Linked DNA regions of Homo sapiens: all the other regions are linked to region 2. The links are contacts of gene promoters, found by promoter capture Hi-C in blood cells and fetal thymus (Javierre and others, 2016). All regions are on one chromosome and are shown on one strand. Each heading gives the region's core, a stretch centred on a gene start or on the middle of the fragment in contact. The rest is flanking DNA. Distances are from core to core; before and after follow the strand shown. Region 1 holds the start of STAM2 (signal transducing adaptor molecule 2). Region 2 holds the start of RPRM (reprimo, TP53 dependent G2 arrest mediator homolog). Region 3 has its middle 610 kb from the start of KCNJ3. Region 4 overlaps CACNB4 (calcium voltage-gated channel auxiliary subunit beta 4).

Region 1 (3,089 bases), core at 293-2,792, 1.3 Mb before region 2:
TCATTTGTCTAATTCTATTTTGCGCCTTCTGTTTTATTTCATTAGAACAGAATCAAAGTGTTCATAATAGCAATTTTTTAAAAGTACAGGTTGCACAAAGGTTGTATGATTCAAACAAAAGAATACTGCAATGAGGCGTTCCAAAAGGAAACAGTGAGCCTTAAGAGTGATGTTTCCCAGATTTACGCCAGTCACCTGTATTCATCCACCAAAAAAAAAGTTTAATGAAGTAAGGAACATACATATTTGAACTATTTACATATATTATTTGACTCAAACATGTTTTTTAAAATGGCTTAGGGGATTACACAACGTATCAGAATAGGGCACTTTCTACAGTCTCCTAATAACCAAATGTTAACTATGAAACAGGGGAATTACTGCTGAGATGTGCAGTATTCTTCTGAGTCTCCCCGCCCCAACCCCATTTCCAAGTTCTAAAAATTTACCTAGGGTTCTGTTAACTACTGCTACAAAAACAAACAAAAAACAAACCTGTAGTCCCAGCTACTCGGGAAGGGGAAACGGAGGTGGAGGCTGAGGTGGGAGGAATTCTAGTCGCACCTGGGCAACATAGTGAGACCCAGACTTTCGAGAATACATACATATATTTCTCAGTTTGTTTTAGTGTTACTCAAATTTCCTAAATAATTTCGTATATATCTTATCCATGTTTTTCTCATTCTATAGTCACTGAGAGACCAGCGCTTTATGACTGCAACATGTAAAATACTTGTTGTTCTGGAGTGTTTTGAGACTGGAGATTTCCTTTTCATACTCTAAAACCGAACATCTCCTAGCACCCGCGCAATCTTTGCAATCCGGGGATGAAGAGCAACACCTTTACAATTGTAATAAATCTTAAAGCTACCCTATCAGGGATTGAATGCATGAGTAATATAAATAATGGGGAAGTAAGTTCTTCCTATTCAATGCGGTTGTCTAGGTGTCAAGTGTCTAGTGTTGGGCTTCTCTAGACAGCAGGGTCTCCACTGCTGCATCATCTTCAGAAAACGATGGGGCAAAGACGGAGGTAACCAGCTGTCGAACGAGCAGGAAGTTTTTAATCACCAACTCCACAACTACTTAATCAGTCCAGTCTCCAGCGAGCCCTAGGCTCTTCCCAAATCCTACGCTTGGCAAGGAGAACGGCCCTTTGAGGGTCCCCAAACTCAGGCGGCAGGAAGCACTCCCCAGACCGCTAGCGACGCGCCGAGGTTGCCCCAGAAAAATCCCAACGTCGAAGGAGCGGGCGGCACCGCCCCTCCCCTCCCTTCGCTTTGCTTCCTAGTCCCCGGAGTCGCTACCGCCCACTTTCTAGCCGGACAAACAGCAGTCCAGGGCCAGGCACACAGCAGTCCAGGACCGGGCACAGCACTCACCCACGTCTTGCTCGAAGGGGTTGGCGGTGAACAAAGGCATCTCGCCGGCGCCCGAGCCCTAGTCGCTGCTGTCTAGCTGACACTCAGCAACTGCTACCCGCCGGGTGACCCGCGGCCGCGGCTCCCTAGACCGCTCCGCTTCGGCCTCCGTCCCTGCACTTCCGCCACCGCACCTGCCCGGCTCTTGCCTGACAGGCCGGCTCGGAGTCCACCCTTCGATCCCGCGCTCCTGTCCCAACTTTTCTCCCGGGGCGAGATCCCTCCGACCATGGGCGTCCTCCCAAGGCCTTTGTCGCTGCCCCTGTCCCAGACTTTTGTAGGGGTCAGGCGGCCGCTACGGCCACCTTTCCAGCGCTAGGACCCCGGCTAGCCACGAAGCCGGGGACCTTCGGAGCCGGAAGTAGTCCCGCCTGGAACTGGACGACCCCGGAAGCTGCAGTGCCAGCGGCGGCGCGGCAGGGGGCGCGGTTACCCGTGGTTTTTCGCGTTGGACGACGGGCTCTGAGGGCCAAGTTCTTGTCACGAATTTAGTTTGTTTCAGAGCGGCAGGACTCGTAGCTAGAGAACGAGGACCCACGACGCGTACGCGTTACAGTCCTGTTTCCCTAGAAACGGAGCTGCCGGCGCGGAGGTGGCTTTGAGATTCTGCGAAAGACCTGACTGCTCTTCAACAATTATTGTGTTGCACCCTCCCAGGCGCCCAGTCCAAACCCCGTCAGAATAACCACCCGGGACAGCGGTGGTCGAAGTAACTACGCCTAACTTTTCGCTTTCCATCGTGTCCCCTCCATAAAAACACTGCTGGGCCCCCGGAATCCAAAGGCGAAGGAGGCACACTCCCTGCCTTAGACTTGTTGAGAGTTTTATAGGGGCAGTGCATAACGTACATGATGGTGTATGACGATTCGGATGGTAGTACGAGTCATAAACTCAAATTCCAACAGCATCCAGCCAGGTATTTAAATGAATGCAAAAGCCCAAGCACCCTTCCCACCCACATATTCTCTGTTCCTCTTAGAAAACTGTAGTAATGATTATGTTGCCTGTCTCTCCTCCTCATTAGATTATAAACTCCCTGATAAGTTTTGGTCACTACTATATCCCCAGCGTCTAAAACAGTGTCCCAAGTAATAGACGCTCAATGCTTTTCGAATGAAGCTGTAACTTTCTAACTGAACAGTGCGTATCTAAAGATGTCAACTACTGGTAAATTGCAGCCATTTATTGAAATGTGGGTCCTACTAGAGTTTGCAATTTTTCAATGATGTTTAAATGTTGAGAATTACTCCAACATTTTAAATAATAGATTAATCAAAACCATTTTACAAACTCTAGTATAAAGACCTGATGCTATAGAGAGCTCATACACATTCAGAAAGGTGGTTGCATTTTATAAAGTTCGGGGCACAAATGAGAAGGAATCGTGCAGAAGGGGCTGTTTTTCATAGAACGTTGAACCTAGGGATGTTCAAGATAAATTGGGAGGCCGGGCATGGTGGCTCACGCATGTAATCCCAGCACTTTGGGAGGCCAAGGCGGGCAGACTGCTTGAGGCCAGGAGTTCAAGACCAGACTGGCTAACATGGCGAAAAACCGTCTCTACTAAAAATACAAAAATTAGCCAGGCATGGTGGCGCAAGCCTGTAATGCCAACTTCTTGGGAGGCTGAGGCACGAGAATCACTTGAGCCCAGGAGGCAGAGGTTAC
Region 2 (3,450 bases), core at 225-2,724:
CGTTCCCCCCTGCTGGGGAGCGCAGAATGACCACCAGGAGGCCAGGAACAAAACGCTTAAATGTTGCATTTATTAAGGAAATGTTAAATAAGAAAAAAACAAAAAGTCAAAACGGTGTCACGGATGTCAAGAGCACTTTTGTGGCGTAAACCGTGCAGTCACGAGCTACGAGTTCTATTCTGGGTCTTTGTCCCAGGGCCAGCAGGAACGCTAGACGCCTCCCAAAAGACCCAGTGGGAAATGCACTAAAAGAAACAACTCACCCCGTTCAAATTCGCAGGCTCCCCCTCCCCCCACCCCTTCTCCCACAATGACAAAACTGTAACTCCTCAGGCAGGCAAACAGGCCACTGGGGCAGAAAAAGACTTATCAAACATTTGTATTCAAGCAAACAAACACAAAACCTCTTAAAACGGCACGTTACAATCAAAGGTATTTATCGCCCCTCCCCTCCAGGGCAGGGGGGGAGCAGGAGAAGAGTGGGAGCGCACCCGGACACGGATTTGTGAGACCCCATGAGTCTGCTGCGTGGCTTTTAACAGGTCACTCTTCCGGTCACAAGGCGATCAGTGCCGCTGGGTCTCTCCCCTGCCCGCCCTCTCCACCTGCCCCCAGAGCTTGGCCCACCTGCGGGTGGAGAAGGGCCTTCGCACCGTCGGTCTCCCCGCATTCCAAGTAAGTAGCAGCTTCCAAAGTTCTGCGCCCTAATCGCCCTCTTCTTGCCACTTTCTGCTGAGTTCAGAGTCTGGGCGCTCTCCTCCGACTGCCAGGCATGAGGACTTTCAGAGGGCGAGGGAGAAACCGGTCGCTTCTTTCCGAAAGGCCGAAGTCGAGAGAAATAATTGACTCCGACAGGTTTGCTTCGCCCAGTCTCTGATAGTGAGGGGCACAGCCGGGCTAGCAAAGTGGGCAGGCGTGGGAGCGGTTGCCGCGGGGGCAGAGGGCGGGTCAGTAGGGCCCCACGACCACCGCCTCCACCTCCTTAGACGGCCTCCGGTCCTTCACGAGGAAGTTGATCATGCCCTCGGACTTGATGAGCAGATTGCAGCCGAGGAAGAAGATGCCGAAGACCACGGTGAGTGAGAGCACGCACATGACCGCGATCTGCACCACGCGCATTATGTACAGGCTACGCTCGTCCGGGCCTCCCTCCGCGAAGCCGTCGTCGGTCACCACGGACGCCTGGGTGCAGCAGCGCACGGCTCGCTCCAGCGCCTCGCTGCTGTTGGCCAGGAACAGGCCCGCCACGTCCGTCTGGTTGCCTAGGGCCGGATTCATCGCAGGAACGGGCGGGCGCCGCGAGCGGCGCGGGTCCGAGGGGTGGGAAGGCGGCGGCGCTGGAGGAACAGGTGCCGGGCTGAGCGCTCACTCGCAGACTAGCGCGTGCGAGGGCTCCTCGCTCTGCTTTCGAAAGTCCCTGGGCCGTGGGAGTTTCCCAGGAGCCTCTCCGACGCGCGCAGCAGCTAGGCTCTTCTAAAGCCGTCCGCTCCAGCCCTGGTGGTGCTCGTTCCCGGCGCTCGCTCGAGGGGGGGCTGTTGGAACTTGGCGGGGCTGGACCAGCCCGGCCGTGGGAGGTGCGGGCCGCGGCGGCTGCAGCGGCGGGGTGGCTGCGCTGAGCAAACAGCGGCCCCTTCCGGCCGCACCGCCGCGCTGCGCGCTGCTCTTGGGAGGTGGAGGAAGCAAAGGGGCGAACCTGGTCTTGCTTTTTATTGCTTGCTTCTTTTGCAAACTCCAAAGGCCAGGCAGAGGTCACTGTACTCTTCTAGCTTGATGGATGATTAAAGAGTTTGTCGGGGGAGGGTGCGGTCAGCTGAAAGTTTCAGAGGAACTGGGACACACGAGCTCTGCGTGTCCTTTGCCTGCTGCCCCCCTGACCTCTGGGCGAATGGAAAGTGGCGATGAATCGCAGGTGCCAGATGGTGCCGGCTGAGGCCACCCGCCCACTGCCTGTGCTTGACTCCGACTCGCCTGCGTTGGATTTCTAGTGGAGTGGAGGTGATCTGAGAATGTTTCTTACAAAGCAATGAATTTGGAAAGACAGAAAGGCATGGAAGAAGGAAGGAAGAAAGGAAGGAAGGAAAGAAAAAAGGAAGGGAGGGAGAAAGAAGAGCTCTACACCCAGCTTCCTTTACAAAAGCGATTGGGAGACAGAGCAAGGCAGGTTTTACCGTGAGGTTTGAGGCCAAGGAAAGAGGGTTAGAGGAAGGAGGAGTTCTTCTGTGGCCCTTGGGTGGAGGTAGTTGCCGGGAGCAGGGTCACCTCTCTGGTAAAGGAGGTGAACAGAGTGACCACTTGCTTGTAATTTTAATTGCAGATAAGTTTTTGGATGTGCTTCCAGCATTTTGTCCGTTGGCAGTAAATCAGTTGTTGAAGGGAATTGCTCATCAACATCCATCACCTAGAACGCTGGCCAAATACTGGGAGCCCTCCCCATTTTCCATAAGCTGATGTATTTCACCCTTAGTCATTTAAACTAAACACAGATGTTTTTATAGGCCTGATTGACGCTTCAGCCATTGTGATTTTGCTCTAGGTTCCAACGAAATTCTATAAACCTGTCAGATTAAGTTTCTTAACTCTGAAAGAATATTGCATGTTCCCGCTCCCCCTTTTCTGTTTTCTTTCCCCTCCCTCCTTTTCCCCATTACTCCCTGCCTTCCTCCCTCTTTCTTTCAGCTGTAACAGCTGGAAACCAGTAACTTGAGCTTCCAATAGAATACATTTACTTTCTATTAAATGTTCTCACCACAAAGAACTGATAAAAATTTGAGATAATGGGTACGCTAATTACTCTGATTTGATCATTCCACATGTATATGTGTATCAAAATATCACTTTGTACCTCATAAATATGTACAGTTGTCAATTAAAAATAAAATAAAACTGAAAAATAGTAGCTGTCTTGCCATTTTCAACTCTACTCTTAATTTCATTCTGTTTGCTTGGTAAATCCTCTTATTTCTGTTTCTTAAAACATCATTTATTCCATCTTCAGAGTGTTCCTTAAATGTTTTTGCACTGCTTCATGACTATCATAAAATAGAATGAAATGCCTTCTGGTTGAGTTTTCAATTTTTTGATATTTATGGTATATCAGCTGCAATAAGTTTGATTTTTTAAAATAGCTATTATTATTTTGAGGGGGATGTTTAACAGCTGAAAATTCAGGCTTGGGCTTCTACCACAATTCACTGGCTTATTGTTCTAGTTTCCCATAATTTAATTAGAATTGAAAAATACCTCACTCTCGGCAATTTCTTCTTTGAAGAAATTTATTAATAATTGATAAGTAAGAATTTACTTAAATCTCATCATACAATCAGTCTATCTTAGTTAATGTGGGTAGTCCTCAAGAATAATAAAACGTAATGTATACATGGAAAAAATTACAACAAATTTAAGGCAATATAAAGTCATCCTGAGATGAATGGTAGAGAAAAGTAATAGAAA
Region 3 (3,408 bases), core at 498-2,997, 1.8 Mb after region 2:
ATCCACACATTTAAAATCTAAAATTATTATATTAATTTAATATAGTCTTTAATCATTTAGCATGTATAAATTAATATAAAAGTTCTCTAAGATAGGTCATTTTTAAAAGTCTTTATTTACTACCACCTTTAGTATCCACTTACTTGTTTATAAAAAATGTTGCTGAATTTCAGAAAAAAAAATTTATTTAGAATTTTTTACAGTTTGACCATACTGGGCATATTTTTTTCTACTGAAGATGAAAAGAGACTTCTATATGTATTCTGGAAAGCATCTTTACTTTTGTATTCAGTGTTATTGTGAAAATGAAAATACTGCTAAATAAAGATGAGTTTCTCACCATATGAAATACTTATCTTTACTTTCAAAATAATAAAATAGTGTAGGCAAAGTCATATTTGACATTTTCTTATTCTATGCCATCAAAATATAAAGAAAATGATAACAAAAATTATATAAAAATAAATTATACTGCTCAGAAATTAAGTCTCTTAAAAACATGAAATCATTTTCTTCCTACATTTCAGCGAGATTAGATAACTGACCATACAAGTTATAATTTTTATTTTCAAAAGTTTAAATTACTAAATGTGAAGTTGATCAGAAACACAACAAATTATAATTACTGAATCAGATAAGATCAGTTAATTTCTCTATTTTGTTTACAAACTGTATAAAATAATACATTCTGAAACATTTTAATTTGAAATATGTTAAGAATACAAATTCTTGGAAATATGATGCTTGAAATGTATTTTAAACTAATCAGATTAAACTATTCCCCAATTATTCCAGTTACATAAGATTTGGCTCTAGCACAGAGGAACCAAATAAGAGGTACAGGTTAATAATATAGAAAGGTGAGCAGAAATCATTTGTCAGTTTTCTATGACATGTCATCCTGGAGTGCCACTCAGAGGGGAAATACTGATATTTGTTATAGCTCAGTTATACCCTTGTTTTATATAAACATATTTTGTTACCTCTATTAATATTCCTGACAGATGAGTAAAGTGTACAGCTGTCTGTTTCTTATGGCTCTGGCTGCTGCACCTGGACAGCCTTTGTAATTAGCTAGGGAATGCCTCTTTTCCATCTGTCACTGCCATGATAACCAAATTTAGTGCTCAGTAGAAATTTGTTGTAAAAAAGAAATGATAAACAACTAAAAGAAAATGTACATATAAAACTATATTTTACTCTTCCACTTAAATCATTATACGAACACGCTGTTAAAAATAATTCTGCAAATCACATATTTAAGTAACCAAAGAATAAAATCTTGGTGTACATATACACACACTATCTATATATTATAGAAAAAGTTAAAGGCCTTTGTTTTACGTGAAGACCTGAGATTAGCATATCCTTAAAATTATTTCTAGGTCTACTATTCCATAATTCTAATATAGAATATTCTAACAAGGATAATGTCTAGTGGAGTCATATAGACTAAGAGGGACTCACATGTCTCAGAAATACTACCTCTTATTTGTATACACAAACCATAGCCTACCTCACGATGGGAAATCCTGGGGTAGTAGAAAAAATACAAGAGTACAAGCTTATTCCCAAATATTCTAGGAAGCAGTTAGCAGTAAGCTCCCCTCTTTATGCCCCTGAAAAATAGAGAACACATGTGTCACAACATTTAAGAACCTCACAGCAAAGAGAAAATATTTTAGCAATTTTTATTCTGGAAGTTGCAGTAAGACTGAAGTTGAGACTGAAAGTCTTTTTGCTGTGTTTTATGTCTAGATCAGAATTACATCATCACCTTTAATAGTGATTAGCAAAATTACTTATAATGAAATTTTATTTCTTAGAATCCTACTACCTAACTGGAGTCATTTCTCTTATTTGAATTTCATTCCATGGTTCATGTGAATTTTTTTGTTGTTTTGAGCATTTTTCTATAATTCCAAAGCTAAGAAGCTTATTAAATGGGGCCAAATATTCCCTGACACCAATAATATTAATTCCAAAATTCACTTTATTTCAAGTTTTTTTCTGATTTAAACATTCCCAAATAAATGTTCATATTGGCGGAAATTAAGGGCAGAATAGCTCTCTCAGGAGATCCTTGTCTACTGCTGAGAAAATAGTTTTCTTTAAGTCAATACAAGGGATTCATAGTCTTTTTATTTAAAGAAAACTTCTATCCATATAAAAATGTATATTATTATTATACTTTTCCTTAATATTAATTTTATAATGCTTAAAATAAAGTTAGTTAATTGCATTATTCACTCATTAATCTTTAGCAAATATCTTTTAATTTTTACACATCTTCCCCATTTTCCTTAAATTATTACATCAGCGAAATATTCTCCAACATGTTTTCATCTATTTGCATACACAAGCATTTTATATATTGTATATATTCTATATAAAACCAATTCTAAATAAAAGTATTTTATATATATTTCTTTTACTAATACATATTTTCTGAAAGAAAGTATACCATCTGTATCAGTTTTTGCAGTGTAAGAAAACCACTTCAAAGTCACATCTAAAGTTGGTTGGGCAGGTTTTACTGTCTTGCCTGGGCTCAAATATGTATCTTAGGTTAGATAGAGGTCTGTAGTTCTGCTAATATTTGCTCAGCTCTCTAATATGTTTGCGAGTGGGCTGACTAATATCTGCTCTAGTATGGCTTCATCAGAAGGGTTGGGATGACTTGCTGCTTTACCAAATGGTCTCTTATCATGGAGCCTAGGATAGTCTTATCCTAGCTTTCTCTTCATGGAAGTGCCAGGGTTCTGAGAAAGGGCAGAAGCACACAGGGAATCTTGAGGCCTAAGTCTGAAACCCACACATCACTTTCACTATATCTATTTGCCAAAGCAGTTCACAGGACAGCCAAGAGTCAAGAAATGAGAAATAGATTCCACTTCCTTAAAGGAAGAGCTTTAAAGTCACACTATCTTTGAAGCATTGGGTGAAAGATTAGAGCCATTTTGTAATTAATCTACCCTATTATCTAATATTATGTGCAATATAATTCAATTTCATTCACCATTGTATGTTTAGCACCTGGAAGACTACCTGGAACATATAAGAAATAAATATTTGTAAGACAAAAGAATGTAAAATCCCACCCCACTTGGAGGACTACTACTTATATGGAAAATAATATTGATTGTCTTGCCCAGCATTTATTCCAACAAGTGACCACCATGCTTTTCCAGAATGCCAATGTTTGAAAACTAAACCCTTTATTCCACAAGCAGTTTAGTACTTAGTTTCTTGATGGAGGCTTGGTTTTGCAAAACAAGCATCTCCGAGAGTTGACAGAAGAAAATAGTGTGAGGCGGTGCCCACTCTAGGAAATGATTCTTCTTTAAGCAACTCTGATGTATACTTTTCACTTCTTCTTCTTCTGAGACATACCTAAAAGTTTCTGGT
Region 4 (3,130 bases), core at 355-2,854, 1.4 Mb before region 2:
AGTGCCTTAATGAAAGAAGCCCTGGATTGACCCCTTGCCCCTTCTACCATTTGAGGACACAGTGAGAAGAAGGCACCATCCATGAACCAGAACGTTGGCCTTTGGCAGACACCAAATCTACCAACACCTTGATCTCGGACTTCCCAGCCTCTAGAACTGTGAGAAATAAATTCCTGTTGTTTAAGCCACCTGGTCTACAGTATTTTGTTGTGGCATCCTGAGCTGACTAATACAGTCATGCATCATGATAACAAGAAAAGAGCAAATTACACAAACAGGTGCACTGAGTAGAGAATGCTGAAGTGCAAATTCAAGAAGCCTCATTTTCTTTTTGAGGCAATTGTGAGCACTCTTACCTTCTTTTTTTTTTCTGATTACATTTCTACTCTTCACTTTATTCACTATTTAGTTGCTTCTAAAATAGTTTGAGGATTATATTAACACAGTCTTGAAAAAATAAAATTCACACATAGTCAAATAACACTGTAGGACATGTTTGTTAAGACAAAAGAAACACAACATTGAAAATACTTGGACATTTTTCATGCTTATAAGACACTAGATTTATGTTTACATTTTTTCATCAATATTAATAGTATAATTCACTATGTATAGATGAAATTTTACACAAGATCATCATTAATTTTTACAGATATGATCTCATAATTTTAGAAAATTTTGTTTCCATTGTTATTGAAAAGAATTTTATGTATTTATTTATTTTTCTTATACTTTAAGTTCTAGGGTACATGTGCACAACGTGCAGGTTTGTTACATATGTATACATGTGCCATGTTGGTGTGCTGCACCCATTAACTTGTCATTTACATTAGGTATATCTCCTAATGCTATCCCTCCCCACTTGACAGGCCCCAGTGTGTGATGTTCCCCTTCCTGTGTCCAAGTGTTCTCATTGTTCAATTCCCACCTATGAGTGAGAACATGCAGTGTTTGGTTTTCTGTCCCTGCAATAGTTTGCTGAGAATGATGGTTTCCAGCTGCCTCCATGTCCCTACAAAGGACGTGAACTCATCCTTTTTTATGGCTGCATAGTATTCCATGGTGTATATGTGCCACATTTTCTTAATCCAGTTGGAACCAACCCAAATGTCCATCAATGATAGACTGGATTAAGAAAATGTGGCACTCTCACCTTCTAAAATTGATACTGATGTCAAGCAAGGTTGGGGAAAGATGATTCATTCACTGCACAGCCTCAGCCCTGGGCAGAAAACACAGCAGTAACAGGGAAGTGGATACAAGCAGTCCAGGAGAAAGGGTACTTGGGGTAGACAGGCGGTATTGCCACGGGACTAGCAAGATATTTTACAGATGAAGAAATAACAATTTACAGAGAAACTTCCTTCCAGAAAGAAAAAGAGGAACCAAGAGAAGAATGACCATCATCCTGATGTGCCCAGAACTCTTTCAGTTTTAGCACCTAATATTGTACATCCTGGGAAACCCCTCAGTCCCCAGGACTGTTGGTCACCCCACAAAGGACACTTCACAAATTATTAAATCTGAACAAGTAACAGGTACAAGATATTATGATGATGACTTAATGACCGAATAAGACTCTGAGGGTAAATCAAGATTTAAATTGCAGTTACGTGTTATACAATGCATGTAGTTCAGGCTGGTAGGAGGACCTTCCAGAAACTGGAAACATGGGACTCTGAGGATGAGAGAGCACACGCAGGTGAGCGGAGACTTCTTCTCCTCCTAATATCCCACTGTTGACGGGTGCTGTGTTATCTGTACTGTGGCCCCTCTGCAGCACAACCTGAGGGAGGAAGGCAGGTCAGACACAGCCAGGGGCTTGCTCAAAGGCCTGGGACCAGGCAGAGGAGGATCCACAGATGGAGCTCAGGTCTCCTCATCCTTAATCCTAGGCTTTCTCCCCTGCCCATCAGCCCCTCCCGGCCGCCATTAATCCTCGGATTTCAGAGTCCTGATGGCCTCTAAGGAGTGAGAGGACAGTCAGCAGGGTCTCTGCTAGACCCTGAAGAGAGACCTGGAGTTAATGGTAGAGAACTAGGCAACAGGAAAAAGAGGAGGTTTTAAAAATTATCCATATTTTTGAAAACTGATATTTTCCTCCATTACTAGAAAACTGCCCTTTCTGTTGGCATTAGGCTCTCTAAAAGGGAAGCACCGTGCTGACAGTCTTGCCAAGCCAAGGGTGAAAGCCTCACAGCCCGTGGCTTGCTTGAACGAAGGCTCCATCAGGGGACAGCAAACTCCCTCATTTCATATTCAGGCAAGAGCGGAGAGCAACAGAGCCTTGATGATTCGAGTGTCTGGATCCTTCTATAGTGTGGGGAAAGGATGTGGCAAATAGAGAGAGAGAAAAAAGGAATAGGAGGCACATGACCAAGTCTGATTTTTTCAGACCTTCTGTTAAAACTGCCCCACAGATGGCTTCAAAATATAGAACCAGAGACTGTGGAGAGCTGGAAGGAATCCCCTTCCCCCCGTCCATTATCTTTGCTCCACGGATAAGAAATTGGCCTGAGAAGGGAAGGGACTGACCCAGGCCACACAGCCAGGAAGGGGCAACAGCCATGTCTCCTGACTCTCAGTGTAACATTTTTTCCCCTAAAATACATTGGACCAAAATCTACTTAGCAGCCCATGGAAATGAACAAGTAAATTGTTAACTTGCTACTAATTTTAGCTATCAACTATTGATGGTGGCACATCTAACTCAGTCGGTCATGATTTTAAGAAAGCCACAATTAATTACAAATTCCTTAAAAAACACAAATAGAGACTATGGTTTAACCATATATTACCGAGACATTTTAATACAACTTTATTTTTAATAATAGGGAATTCAAAAAAATCTAAATGCTTTTTTGCTTAATGCATTTTCTCTCTCCAAAGAAAGTCTCAATATACTTTATATGTTTCCATCTTAAAAAGATTTTTTAGGCAGGGTGTGGTGGCTCATGCCTATAATCTCAGCACTTTGGGAGGTTGAGGCAGGAAGATTACTTCAAGACCACCCAGGGCAATATAGTGAGACCCCCCATCTCTACAAAAACAAAAAAATTAGCTGGGTATGTTGGCATACGCCTATAGTCCTGGCTACTCAGGAGACTGAGGCAAGAGAATTGATTAAGCC

What was found. Contacts are between HindIII fragments. The CHiCAGO score rates a contact against its expected background, and 5 or more counts as called.
Region 1: a contact is called between the fragment with the promoter of STAM2 here and the fragment with the promoter of RPRM in region 2, in 1 of 17 cell types (naive CD8 T cells). The highest score is 9.1, in naive CD8 T cells.
Region 3: a fragment that was not itself captured here is called in contact with the fragment with the promoter of RPRM in region 2 in 1 of 17 cell types (M2 macrophages); the score reaches 5.5 in M2 macrophages.
Region 4: a contact is called between a fragment that was not itself captured here and the fragment with the promoter of RPRM in region 2, in 6 of 17 cell types (total CD4 T cells, naive CD8 T cells, non-activated CD4 T cells and 3 more). The highest score is 10.8, in total CD4 T cells.

What each region holds. Positions count from the first base shown.
Region 1 is chr2:152,174,221-152,177,309 of GRCh38, forward strand. It overlaps STAM2 (signal transducing adaptor molecule 2), which reads right to left and starts at 1,543. Exons shown (of 14, transcript NM_005843.6): 1 at 1,383-1,543. The coding sequence starts at 1,422. It overlaps LOC105373689 (a long non-coding RNA gene), which reads left to right and starts at 1,313. Exons shown (of 3, transcript XR_923477.3): 1 at 1,313-2,337. RefSeq lists enhancers at 1,081-1,130, 1,181-1,320, 1,481-2,004, 1,481-1,900. The HindIII fragment of the contact is 5,938 bases long and covers 1-3,089 here.
Region 2 is chr2:153,477,288-153,480,737 of GRCh38, forward strand. It overlaps RPRM (reprimo, TP53 dependent G2 arrest mediator homolog), which reads right to left and starts at 1,475. Exons shown (of 1, transcript NM_019845.3): 1 at 51-1,475. The coding sequence starts at 1,278. The coding sequence ends at 949. It also overlaps a transcript of GALNT13 not described here. RefSeq lists enhancers at 1-145, 146-649, 650-1,153 and a silencer at 1,510-1,709. The HindIII fragment of the contact is 6,762 bases long and covers 1-3,450 here.
Region 3 is chr2:155,305,946-155,309,353 of GRCh38, forward strand. No RefSeq gene overlaps it. Among named protein-coding and RNA genes, the nearest start is that of KCNJ3, 610 kb to the left of the region's middle. The HindIII fragment of the contact is 371 bases long and covers 1,563-1,933 here.
Region 4 is chr2:152,029,748-152,032,877 of GRCh38, forward strand. All of the region lies in intron 2 of CACNB4 (calcium voltage-gated channel auxiliary subunit beta 4), which reads right to left. Among named protein-coding and RNA genes, the nearest start is that of CACNB4, 68 kb to the right of the region's middle. The HindIII fragment of the contact is 4,901 bases long and covers 1-3,130 here.